Regions from separate parts of the Homo sapiens genome. Here all the other regions are linked to region 1. The links are contacts of gene promoters, found by promoter capture Hi-C in human tissues and cell types (Jung and others, 2019). All regions are on one chromosome and are shown on one strand. Each heading gives the region's core, a stretch centred on a gene start or on the middle of the fragment in contact. The rest is flanking DNA. Distances are from core to core; before and after follow the strand shown.

Region 1 (2,513 bases), core at 8-2,507:
AAATGTGATTTTAAAGCGCCCTCAGGGAGAAGGGCTGGGGTGTCTTGATGGGCTGGCTCTGGGCACCTTTACCTTTGAACGGCTCCATCAAAACCTTTCCGAGAGAGCCGCCAGGTGGCACCTGTAAAGCGCAGATGGGGAGAGTCATTTGCCCCACACCCTACACAGCCCGGAATAACCAGGGTGCGTGCTTTCCCCTGTGGGCTTGTTAGGGGCTAGGAAGTGGGGGAGTTTTAGTCTCCGTCCAGACTGCTTGCTTACATACCCCGTTTTCCTGATACCCCAACACATTCAGGGCGGATTTGTCCCCACGCACCCGGGATATCAAAGGCATGTCATACGCTAGTTGGGAGCATCTCGGCCTCAGTCACCCGCCGCGACGTGGGAACTGGCGGTGGGTGGCCGAGGGCTGCTCTAAGCTGGTCTCCTCAGCCCGACCTCTGCCCGGGGCAAGGGGGAGGAGGGGCAAGAGACAGGGGTCCCAGCGCGGCTGCAGACTGGGGTCCAGCAGGCGTGAATGGATGCCTAGACGCAGGCAGTGACAGCAGGGATCCCAAGCCCCTTCCAAAAACCCTCGGTCTAGGGACTGCGCTGCCATAGGCCGGGGTCTGGGGCGCTTTCTTCCTCCCGCGGGTTCTTTCTCTGTGGTTTCTCCTGCCCCCGCAGCAGCGTGGCGGCCTCGGGTCCCCCCTCGTCGCGGTAGCGGTGATCCCACAGCCCAGTCTGGGTGGGCGACCCAGCGGGCAGAGGGGCCGCAGAAAGGGGTCGGGGTACGGGGTGTGAGCACACGGAGCCAGCGTGGTAATTTCGGGGTGGGCAGCCGGGCCACCATCTCCGCTCTATCAGTAGCGGGAAGCGAGCAGCGCCAGTTGCGCGACTGTCGCTGCCACGGCCGCCTCTACTCGGTCGCTGGTGACATTGGGAGGAGACCGCTTGGAGAGAGCAGAGGAGGAGGAAGAGGAGCGGGGAGGGTGGGGGTTGGGGTGGAAGAAAGTAGCAATTGTGCCAGGGGGCGTGTGAGCAGCCGGAGAGCCAGCCGCGCTGGTGACAACTTCTCTGGGGCGCGCGCGGGGCTGGTAGGCGAGGAGCGAGCAGGGAGCGCGGCCGAAGCCAGAGGCTGGGGGAGCTGCTGGAGCCTCGCGAAGCCGCGGCCGGCGCCCTGCGCCGTCGCCGCCGCCTGCTAGTTTCCTCCGGGTTCTCAGCCCCGGGTACTGAGGCTTCGGTCTATAAATAGCAGGTTACAGCTCCTCCTGGGCGCGCACACGCTCACACGCTCGCAAGCGAACGCAGGAAAGTCAGGCTAAAAGTGTCTGCTGCTGCTGCCGCCCCCCACTCCGCCTCCGGGAGAGGTAATTACCCGCCTGGGATCCTAGGGCTCGGTGGGGGAATTTTGCAGGGTGGGGTGGTTGATGGTGGGTAATCCGGGAGGCGAGGGAGCGTGTCTGAGAGCGTGGCGGCACGTCTTGGAGGGGGGAGCCTGTCTGTTTTGCATCAAGTTTCTCCGTCTTGCAGCCTCCATCACCCCTCCAGCTCTTTAGCTTAAAGGGTGGGGTGGGCTGTCTCTCCTCGGCTGCTGGGGTACCCCTGTCACCGCGCCTACCCTCTCGCCGAGCGCCCCTCTGCCCGGCGCGCGCGCGTTTTCGCATTCTCACTCACACACGCACACTCTCCGGGCCCCCGTGGAACTCTGAGCTCTGGCCTCGCTGACCTTCCAAGGCTGCGCCCACCTGCGCTGTCCCTGAGAGACGCTGAGGTTGGCCCGGGCACTCGCTCTCACTTCCAATCCTGATGATCGCAAGCTGCCGCCGCCGCCGCCGCCGCCGCCGCCGGCCTGGGAAGAAGTCCTTAAGGAATAGAGGCAGTGGTGGGGAGTGAGGGTGACTGATGTTGGTGGTCCCGGTTGCCTTGTTTTTTGTTTTAAAAATAAAGAGCCCATCTCCTTGACCACCTTCATCCCACCCTCAACAACTCATTCTGGCAGAGAAGCCTGGCATGTCTTCTCTCGGCCATCAGGCAGCATCTCTTGTCCTTCCCCAAAGAGGTCTCGCTGAGAGGTTAGGGCCTTGGCGCAAGAGTGCCTGGGTTTGGACGGGGGAGGTCATTGTTTCGGGTCTGAGAACTATGCTGCAGGCTCCTCAAGCTCTCTGGCGCTCAGGCAGGGCCCAGGGCCGGGGAATGTCTGGGAGCCTGGTTCCTGAATGTAGTTTCAGGCTGGTAGCTGATATGAAGATGAGGATGCTAGAACCACATATACCTGTTTTTCCCCCTCCCCACGCTTCTGAATTCTCCCTTCCTTGGGGGCAGTAGTTTCTGCTCCTGGGGAGTCGGTGGAGAGGGGCCCAGCAGTTTCTCTTTGGGGACAAGAGGGTGAGGAAGCACATATTGATTAGGTTGTTGCTGCTGCTGCACAAAACTTACTGGAAAAACCCGGTAGGGTTTTCTATTACTCTTGTTTTAAGGATGTAAATTTACTCCTTTTCCTCTTTTATCTTCTCCCTAACCAGAACTAGTTT
Region 2 (2,513 bases), core at 10-2,509, 1.8 Mb after region 1:
CTCTGAAGAGTTCAGAACAGCAGAGAAACTCAGAGCTCAAATTATTGCACTGCAGTGGTGCCTCTTGCCCATGTGTTGTGACTGTGCAATTAACGTAAATGGCCAAACTGAAGCAAGCTTTTGGGAAGCCGACTGCGTTTGCTTTCTTTGATACAAACACGTAATTATACTTTGACAGTGAAACAGTATTGAATGCAGAGTGACCATAAAGTTCTGAGAGCCCTAGGGCATAAGTGGAACAGTTTACGGTTTTGAAAATTAAACTGAATTCTCCACAGGGTATAAACAAAACAGCAAACCTTTTCTATTCCGTTGATATTGAATGAGGGTGTGTGCAGGCACTGTTGAAGGAATCAGAGTAAGTTGTTCTTTAAACATACATGAAAAGTGTCTATCTCTAAAGGAATAACTTAAAAATCTATCAGTTAATTCTCTAAGTAGGTACACACACGCGTACTTACATACACACATTAAAGAATAGTTCAATTATTATTTCTCTGTTCTAAAATATTGTGGACCTCACAGACCTCTATTTTGTCTTTGCCTATATTTTTATATTCCTTTAACCAGTATTCAGGGTTTTTCACCAATAATTTTTGGAAGATAAAAATGCAACTGTTTTAATAGGGAAATTTTGTAAATGTAAAGCTGCCAAACATGAAACACATGAAATCCCACCCATGCTGAGATTTGGTTTGCAGTGCTGTTTTCTTGCCCCTGTCCGATGGAAGCACTGGTCTTTAGGTTCTTCCATTTTGGAGAGTATGAGTTTCTTTTTGCCTCATTTATTTCCTGCTCTCTATCAGTAGCATAAGAAGCTCTCTTCTGTGTTTTCTTTGCTTAGAGTGAGTTGCTTGGCAGATGAAGTTAAGATGGAGCACTGAGAAGGCATGGGAAACAGAAAATTTACCTAGCTTAAAGTAACAGTTCAACTAACATCTAAAGGCCATTTATTTCAATGACTGATAGGGTTTTTTGTAAAATAAAATTGTCCCAATGCAGACATGTCCTTAGCCCTGGACTTCTTTTCAGAAATTTGAGCAGTACTGATATTATGGCAGTAATGGATGCTTGCATCTGACAGTGACTGTCCATCCATACTGGCCACTTATCCAAAAGTAACATTTTAGAAGTCGTGCTGCTCTGCAATGGTGACAACCGCATTGGACATGTGATCCGGTAAACAGGTCACTCCACCCAGAGCCGTACCTGCAGGTCTCGTTTGGCGATCAGACTTCTCACATTCGGCCCACCGGCTGTTCCTTCCTTGTGGTAGCCCCCTGCTTCTGGAATTCCTACTGATTTCCTGCCTCAGCCTCACTGTACCTTTGCCTCTACTGGTGCCTTCCCTGGGGGACATGTGCAGCTCCAGAATCCTAATATCTCCAATTACTGTCATTCTGTCTTGAGGACTGATTCTAAAGCTCCATAGAGCTAAGCTTAGATGGTGACAGCTGACACATTTTCCCCTTGCCCTTTCTCACACAAATCTAATTAATATCCTCATAGGCTTGTTTAGAGACAGAAAAGAACAAAAAACATGCAACTTCAGCTAAGCAGTTGATTTTTCACAGGAATGGACTTCTTCTAGGAGACGTTGTTGAAAGGGGATATATTTGAGAAAAATAAGGAATATGAAATGAAACTAATTAAGAAATTAGAAGACATGTTTTAAGCACTCACATCACTGTATCTTGACAATGACGAGAGAAAATTTAAACTGATTATAGCAGCCAGTATTAGATTGGGTGAGGAAGACACAGTGACTAGAATGCAGACAGGTGATTGCAAATTGGATGATGAACCAGAGGTTTTGTTTCGTATTTGTCATTGTAAAAAATACAAACAAAATAGTAATAGACTGGATGAGAAATTAGTGTAGGAAAAGGAGAATAGATGAATTTCAGAGATTACAAAAAGAAGAGGCAGTGGGATTTTGTGAATGATTATGGAGAGATTGATTTTGCAGCTGCAGGTAAATCTTCCTGTCACAGCTGACTACTCTGGCTTCCCTAGGAAGAGGTTTTCTTTCAAGAGCAAGTACTTTTTACTTTTTTGTTTGTTCAAATACTAAGTATGTCTTTTTTGAATTAGGATTTTTTTTTTCCACTTTTCAGTGTAATGCACACTGGCTCTTGGAGAATAGTGCCTGTCTTACAATTTTAAACAACGTTTATGGAGTCCTGACTATGCTTTCTGTGCTTTATTTCACATGGTCATCGTAGCAATGCTGTGAACTCCTTACTGCTTTTACTGCCATTTACTTATAAGAGAACTGAACCTCAGGAGGGTTAGCAATTTGCCCCAAGTCCCACAGACGTTCTGGCTCCAGGGCCTGGAGTTCGGCCTGCTACCACACAGTGTTAGGACATAAATGCCAGACATGAAATCTGTCTATAACAGTTCTGCTAGGAGGTGTTACTAGCCCCATTTTTCAGATGAGGAAACTTCATGAAGTAAATAAGTGGTAGGATTTAAAGTCAGGTCTGTCTGACCTCCCTCCAAATCATTCT
Region 3 (2,513 bases), core at 6-2,505, 1.5 Mb after region 1:
TTCAATTAATTGTCTGTTTAATGAAGGCCAAATTTGTGTTAGGCACAAGGATGAATATGAGTGGCCCATGCCCTAAAAGGAATTCACAATCTAAGGAAATATGTATGTATAATTATCTCATAAGTATACATTATACAGTGACTTACTCCATCACTAAACCCATATTCTCATAAGAAAGTTTGCTTCAATACAGAAAAGACATCAAAGTTTATGGTTAATTGCTTATTAGTTACAAACTTCTATAACCCTCAAGTGAAAGCAAAATATTTGTTTGTCTTATATAACAAACTACAAACATCAATCTGAACATTATGAGCATTGGTTCATGATTCATTTGGTCTAGGTCTTTCATGAAATAATAAGATTAAAAGATGTTTATAAAGAATTTTAACCACCAAATATAAAACAGCAGATACAATGTCTTTCTTGGAACATTGGGAAAGAACCAGTGCCAAATCAGAGACCTGTTACTACTCATATCCTTTACAGAAGATGTAGTGCAGGAATTATGCATGCGTAGGGTCTATCATTTTTCCAGATCAACTTGGAACTATGAGGCAGTGGCAGTGACCACTGAGGAATTGTTAAGAGGCTAGATACAAAAACGATGACCTCAAATAACAAAGCTAATAAACAACAGCAAGGAAGACAGATAGTTGGGAGGGATTAAAAAATGGGTTTTGTTAAACTGTGTTTATTCAAAATGCCAGAACTGGAGGCAAATTCTACTAATTGCACTAAGACCAGAATGAAGTAATCCCGGATATCTTAATCTAAGGCTGAGCGCATTAGCTCACACCTGTAATTCCAGCATTTTGAGAGGCAGAGGCAGGCAGATCATTTGAGCCTAGGAGTTCCAGATCCAGCCTGGGCAACATGGTGAAACCTCGAAAAAAAAAGAAAGAGAGAGAAAGAAATTCCATGAGAATTTTAACTAATTTCAGAATAGTTAAAATTTTAACTAATTTTAGATATTAGCATAAAGTTTCCCATCCAGAGTCCAAAAATACACAGATGTCTGCCACCACTCTCTTTTCCAAAACGATCACAGATAAGAATAATTAATGGCAGGACTCCTTTGCACTGAATGCCTACTTAGTTTCCTGATTCACCTCCAAGAGTGAGTATCTGGGGAAGGGCGCGGTGGCTCACGCCTGTAATCCCAGCACTTTGGGGGGCCGAGGCGGGCGGATCACGAGGTCAGGAGATAGAGACCATCCTGGCTAACACGGTGAAACCCTGTCTCTACTAAAAATACAAAAAAAAAAAAAAAAAAATTAGCCGGGCGTGGTGGTGGGCACCCCATGCTGTCGTCCCATCTACTTGGGAGGCTGAGGCAAGAGAATGGTGTGAACTCGGGAGGCGGAGCTTGCAGTGAGCCGAGATCTCGTCACTGCACTCCAGCCCGGGCGACAGAGCGAGACTCCGTCTCAAAAAAAAAGAAAAAGAGTGAGTACCTGGGCAGCCACTGTCAACCAGTCGGAGCTAGCACTGAAGGCCACATTAGCACTTCATCCCTGATAAAGTCAGTGGTAGGTGTTGAAATGGAAAGATTTTATACAATTAGGGCTGAAGAAACTGAGGCCTAGGAAGCTTAGCCAAATTGCCCAGAATGGCAGTGTCTATACCTGAAAGACGTATGGTTTGCTAGTTGAGACCATGAACGTGAAACCACCTGCTACTTTCTCTTCTTGCCAAAATTTCACTTGCATTGCGTATACTTTGTATGACAGTAGCCATGTTATTAACCTGGTTGTCCCAGTTTTTAAAACGCATCCCTAAACAGAAGATTTGCAAAAGTTATAATATTAACAGAGCTGGCCTTAAAATTAGTTTAGATACTAAGAAGTTATGATTCAACAAATAACTTAAATCATTAAATTCCCAGAGATATTTTCCCCCAAGGCAGAAAGTACATCTAATGTTTCATGTCTATTCTTTTATACTTTTCTGTGCTTTTATATAATAAAAAGAATTAAAAGTGGCTTTAAAACTAACAGCTAAGAATTATATATCCAGAAGGAAAAGAAATATCAGGATAATAGAATAATATTTTTTATGAAATATAAGTGGCAGGCTGGGTGACATATTTTAAATTAGGCTTTCTGGAAAATCAATCTTTGGACACACAGATTTAAAAAACATTTGAAACAAATGACAAATGAGAGCAAGTAGATGGGTTGATGGCTGGAAGTGAAAAGCAGTCAAACACATGCCACGCAGTAGCTCAGAAGAAATTGTCAAAGAATAGATGAGAAAGACAAAAACTGGCATGCTAAAAACAGTTCTTAACCAGAGCAAAGGATACTGGCCGAAAAGGTGGAAACTTACGTATCAAGCCTAAGTAGTAGATGTTAAAGTAACATCCTTGGAAGCAGAGACAGAGTGGTAAAAATGGAAGCTGAGAAAGATGAAGATTTTGTTGAGAGAAAACACTTCCTAACACAATAACTTAAAAGATACAGGAAGCAGTTTTATAAATAATAATAATAATAAAGCAACTTAAAATTTTC
Region 4 (2,513 bases), core at 9-2,508, 1.3 Mb after region 1:
TATATGTGTGTCTGTGTGTGTGTACACATATATAATACGTATATTTTATATATATATTTAAGAAGGCATGCTCTGCTAGAAACTATTTTGAAATACTTAAATAGCTAAAAATGATCACAATATTAAGACATATCTGTGAGCCAAATTTAACCACAGCCCATGAATTTTGCAGTACCTGGTCTAGCTAATAAACATTGTGAAACACTGTGTCAGAATCTTGCCGTTGAACCATATGACAATGGACTTCTCTGACCTTAGTGTTCTCACCTGGAGCCACTTTTTAAGTTATAACTCTTAAAAAGGATGAAATTATAAAAATATTAAAAATATAAACTGAAGATGCATTATGTCATTGAGGATACAGGGAGCAACCAAAAACAATAATCATGACGATCAAAACTCGTGAAACATTTACTTTGTTTTCCATAACATTTTGATGGCATTTATTTTATTTTATCTGATATCATACTATTTTCATGCTGCCGTCTCTCCTACCAGAATTTAAGACTTGTAGGGCAAAATCTTTGATGTTTTTCATCCAGAAATGTCCCACAGCATTTCACTAATGTTGCACAAATCGTAGGTAATTACAAATAATGGTCAAGGTTAATATTAGATTTTAAAAAGAGAAAAATTTAATTTTTGAAGACAAAACTGCATGCCTCAATAAATAATCTTAGGAAAACTGAATTTCAGAAAATCATCTTTAAACAAACAAAGCTAAACTATAATAAATAAGAGTAATAAACAAGAAAAGAAATGATAAACAAGAAAGAGCAAAAACTGATTTGTTTTCCTCATGGTCAAATACACTGAAATTGCAAGAAACAATTTTCCTTTAATATAAAAGATGTTGACATTTTCTGCTCCCTGGTTAGGATATACAACATGTTCTCTAAATTATATTATCTTTTGCCATTGATATAGTCCAATTTCAATGTATAAATACAATGGAAATATAGTACTAAGGCACACCTGTTTTCTGGGTACTTTTAGTTGAGCTTTCTCTGTGCTCCCACATTGCTTTGTTTTTACCATTATTATAGGATTAGTTGTGTGTAATTGTGGTTAGCTCTTTATATATTTTTTCTCTGCTATGAGATTAGGAACTCCACTTGGGCAGAAATATTATCTTATTGATTTTTATAACTAAGACTGTGCACAGCACTTGGCATATAGTAGTGTAACTCATAGTAATACAAATATGTGCGAAATTTCCATATCAGATTCGATTTTTGATTGTGTTGCTCTGGGGCTTCCAACCTATTACAGGAGCAATAACGGTCATTGTTTCTGGGAGAAAGGCAGACAGTAGCTAGAACAATAAAATCATGTCTCAGCTTTGACTGGTAGATAAGATTCTTGTGTCCCAAATAAGACAATAATCTTTAAAGACATTTTGGTCAGACCACAGGAGACGTTTTAAATTCTGCCAATTCTTAATACATGCCACACTCAAATTCAGCATTTAACTATCAGGCAAAGGTAGAAGATTACAGTCTCAGCCAACATCTAACTGCAACCAAATGAGACTGAGTGAGAACTCTGCTCAGTTCTTCCCATAATCCCTATCCATAAAGCCTGAGAAAAGCAAAACACTTGGGTTTTTTTCACACCAATAATTTGGGTAACTTGTTATGCCTCAAAAGGAACTATAATTAATTATAATTATATACATATAATTAGGATTATAATCTTAGGAAAATTGGGAATATATAATGGGAATTAACTAGTTAATCTTTTATTTAGGAGCTCTTCAAACATGTTTGTTAGTGAAATAATAGTATCATTTTCTGTTCTTGATTTGTTCTCATCTTAAAGTATTGCCTAGTATTTTCTTTCTATTTGAAAACTCCAGTTGGTTTTAATATAGTACTTATGCATGAATACTTCTGCATTAGTTTTTATTGCTATGCAGAAGTTTGCCATAAATTTAGCAGCTTAAAACAACATGAATTTATTATCTCACCATTTCAGTAGGTTAGGAGTTCTGCTTAGATGCCTGAGTCCTCCATTTAGTGGCTCAGGTGGCTAGAGATAAGATGTTGGCTTGGCTTAGTTCTTGTCTGGAAGTTCCAGGGAAAATCCAGTTCCAAACTCATTTTGGTTGTGGGAAGAATGTAGTTCCTGGTGATTACAGGACTGAGATCTCCTTTTTCTTGCTGGCTGTTGACCAGGGGGCCATTCCTAGCTCCTAGAGGCTGTTTGCCACTCCCTGCACCATGTGACCCTCTCTACAACTTGTTGGTGGCTTCTTCCATGCCAGCAGGAGTATGTCTCTATTTCAAAGTTCTGACTCCCCTTTTCTCTGTCCTCTGTACTCAGATTTAAGGGGCTCTTGTGATTAGACTAAGCCAGTTGGATAACATTCCTTTCTTAAAGTCAAGTATACCACCTGACATAACTCATCATAGCAGTAAAATATTTATACTCTGGGAAATTATGGCAGGTGTGTATGTAAGGGGCCCGAGATCTTGGGGCCATCTTAAAATTACCTACTTTAAGACTATTAT
Region 5 (2,513 bases), core at 7-2,506, 1.1 Mb after region 1:
ATGGCCCTGGAGACAAGAGAGCTTTATGTTCTGGTTGAAAAATGCAGAAAACACGAATTTGATCAATGCTGTTATTTGCCAATATCTCTAAAATGGACTCTTTGTTCCAGAATTAAGTTTAATCAAATAATAAAAGTGTTGAGATTGCCTTGATCAATATGGAGGTCATGTGCAAGGTGCTTATCCCCTAATACTCCTCAGGAACCAGTAGTATATTTACAAGAATTCGTGGTGGGCACTGAAAGAAAGAACTATGTGAGAGGACTTCCATTTATCTCAAGATGAGGTCTGCCGACATTACTTACTACCACATTCTTTTCTCTACAAACTACACCTTCAATACATGTAGAAGAACCTTGCTTGAGGTATATAGCTTGTAGGGATCTTCAAACATCAACCCAGAAAGTTGGAATAAGAAAAATATACTTACCTCTGTTTCAGTCAATAATTTTCTTTTTTTTTATTATTTTCTTTTTTTTTTTTTATTTTTGAGACGGAGTCTCACTCTGTCATCCAGGCTGGAATGCAGTGGCGCGATCTCTGCACACTCTCATGCTCCGCCTCCCGGGTTCACGCCATTCTCTTGCTTCAGCCTCCCGAGTAGCTGGGACTACAGGAGCCCGCCACCACACCCGGCTAATTTTTTTTTTTTTTTTTTGTATTTTTATTAGAGACGGGGTTTCACTGTGTTAGCCAGGATGGTCTCGATCTCCTGACCTCGTGATCCGCCCGCCTCAGCCTCCCAAAGTGCTGGGATTACAGGCGTGAGCCACCACGCCCGGCCCATTCAATAATTTTTTGTTCACTTTATCAGGAGTTTTACCACAATTCATCCAGTCAAAAGACTTGATCCTTGCCAAAAACCTAAATAACACTTTACATTCTTATCTTTAAAAATCCATGGTCACCAAGTCCCATAGATTCTACCCCCTTGGTATTTCTTAGTTCTGCCTCTTCCTGCACTAAGTTCTTAATTTATTCCCAATAGCTCTGCCTGCATTATAGCAATAGATTCATAATTAATCATCTGTACCCAGTGCCCCTCCCTCTTACCTATAAAACCATTGTCCAAAAGGTTGTCAATGTAAAAAATTGCACTGGACAAAGCAAAATACACTTTTTACTTTAATAAATTCTATTTACTGAAGGCTGTGTAAGACTAATCAGACTATCATTTATTCAAGACAATTGCAAGAGGGAAAAGAGACTAAACTCAAATCCACGGAAACAAAAGCCCAGAAAGTTTTTAGGAGCTGGAGTGGGGGGACTTGTATGTCATCTGTGTTTGCTAATTGGCCTAACCAAAAGAGAAAGTAAGCTTTCTCCTGTCTTCAGGACAGGTGGTAGTTTTACAACTTGGAGCAAGGAGCCACTGAAGTTAAGTTTCTACCTCACCATGGAGGCTGAGAGAAAGGGGTGCTATCTTTTTGGATGATTACACTTCAAAGAGATGACTCCAAGGTCCTTAAGGAATACATGCCCTGGGTTGTAAACCTGGCAGTAGGCTTTTTAAGGAGATTTACATTCATTCCAAAGTGGCAGAGAAAGAATTTGTCATTAATAGTTTTCTAAAGTAAATGCTATAAGAAAAGAAAGCTCGGGGGGGCCTATAGTCAGAAAGAAATCTATGAGAGTGAGCAGGAGTTGCATATTTTTCACATTATCTTCCTGCACCCATCATAGTGTTAGTTACTTTGAAAGTTCTCCTTTAATATTTTTCAACTAAATTAAAGGTGCAGTTGTTTGAAAAATATAAGGGCTTACAAATAGAATTCTTAAATTTCTCAATGGTAGTAAATCATCAACTTTTGAGGGTAAATTTTAAAAATAATGTAATTTGGAAGTATTTTTGAATAAAAATTCAACCAATATTTTAAACACCTGTAATAATTATTCTTTCATTTAAAGTTTAAAATTAGCTTGGAAGGTTTTATGCAAAAAGCATATCACTTAAGTAAAAGCCTAGTTCTAAGAACTTCCAAGTTCAATGCTCATTTATATAAAAGACATAGAATATGTTTGTTAACAAATTAGTCTCAATATTCTAGGGTGTTTGGAAAGCACCTCTGAGTAGGGTTATGTCTCTGTGAGTTCATAATAATTATATATTGACTAAATATTTTGGAATATTCTCATTGTTTAAGGCACCATAACAAAACAGGGTTTAAGTCCCGTGGCTTAACCAGTTTGACACATTTACAGTACTGTAAAATCATGCTCCGCTGTGATAATGAATCTGTTAGTCAGGCTTCTTGTAATGTTCAGACACTTTCCTGCTAAACAGCTGCTTTACTGCTTTACACCTGCTAGTGAATGAATTGCATTCACTGAGTTTGTTTAGTTCAATTTAAATTTAGGGATCATATCTGAAAACATGAATTATTTAAATCTCCCAAGTCTTTGGTGGAAAAAAGAGATTCTTTAAAAATTCTTTCAAAGATAACTGAAATCTGGCTACATTAAGTTAATGCCATGGAGGAGGAAACATGTCAGGTCATGACTATTTGATAAAA

What was found. Contacts are between HindIII fragments. The study calls those that stand out against the background at their distance.
Region 2: a contact is called between a fragment that was not itself captured here and the fragment with the promoter of INPP4B in region 1, in 1 of the 25 tissues and cell types used here (dorsolateral prefrontal cortex).
Region 3: a fragment that was not itself captured here is called in contact with the fragment with the promoter of INPP4B in region 1 in 1 of the 25 tissues and cell types used here (dorsolateral prefrontal cortex).
Region 4: a fragment that was not itself captured here is called in contact with the fragment with the promoter of INPP4B in region 1 in 1 of the 25 tissues and cell types used here (lymphoblastoid cells).
Region 5: a fragment that was not itself captured here is called in contact with the fragment with the promoter of INPP4B in region 1 in 1 of the 25 tissues and cell types used here (dorsolateral prefrontal cortex).

Annotation. Positions count from the first base shown.
Region 1 is chr4:142,845,045-142,847,557 of GRCh38, reverse strand. INPP4B (inositol polyphosphate-4-phosphatase type II B) reads left to right here and starts at 1,257. Exons shown (of 26, transcript NM_001101669.3): 1 at 1,257-1,349. All of the region lies in intron 3 of USP38-DT (USP38 divergent transcript), which reads left to right. RefSeq lists an enhancer at 1-500. The HindIII fragment of the contact is 7,687 bases long and covers 1-2,513 here.
Region 2 is chr4:141,079,649-141,082,161 of GRCh38, reverse strand. All of the region lies in intron 1 of RNF150 (ring finger protein 150), which reads left to right. Among named protein-coding and RNA genes, the nearest start is that of RNF150, 53 kb to the left of the region's middle. The HindIII fragment of the contact is 4,083 bases long and covers 1-2,513 here.
Region 3 is chr4:141,385,477-141,387,989 of GRCh38, reverse strand. No RefSeq gene overlaps it. Among named protein-coding and RNA genes, the nearest start is that of LINC02432, 54 kb to the right of the region's middle. The HindIII fragment of the contact is 3,171 bases long and covers 1-2,513 here.
Region 4 is chr4:141,591,987-141,594,499 of GRCh38, reverse strand. No RefSeq gene overlaps it. Among named protein-coding and RNA genes, the nearest start is that of LINC02276, 16 kb to the right of the region's middle. The HindIII fragment of the contact is 8,627 bases long and covers 1-2,513 here.
Region 5 is chr4:141,766,521-141,769,033 of GRCh38, reverse strand. No RefSeq gene overlaps it. Among named protein-coding and RNA genes, the nearest start is that of IL15, 130 kb to the right of the region's middle. The HindIII fragment of the contact is 3,555 bases long and covers 1-2,513 here.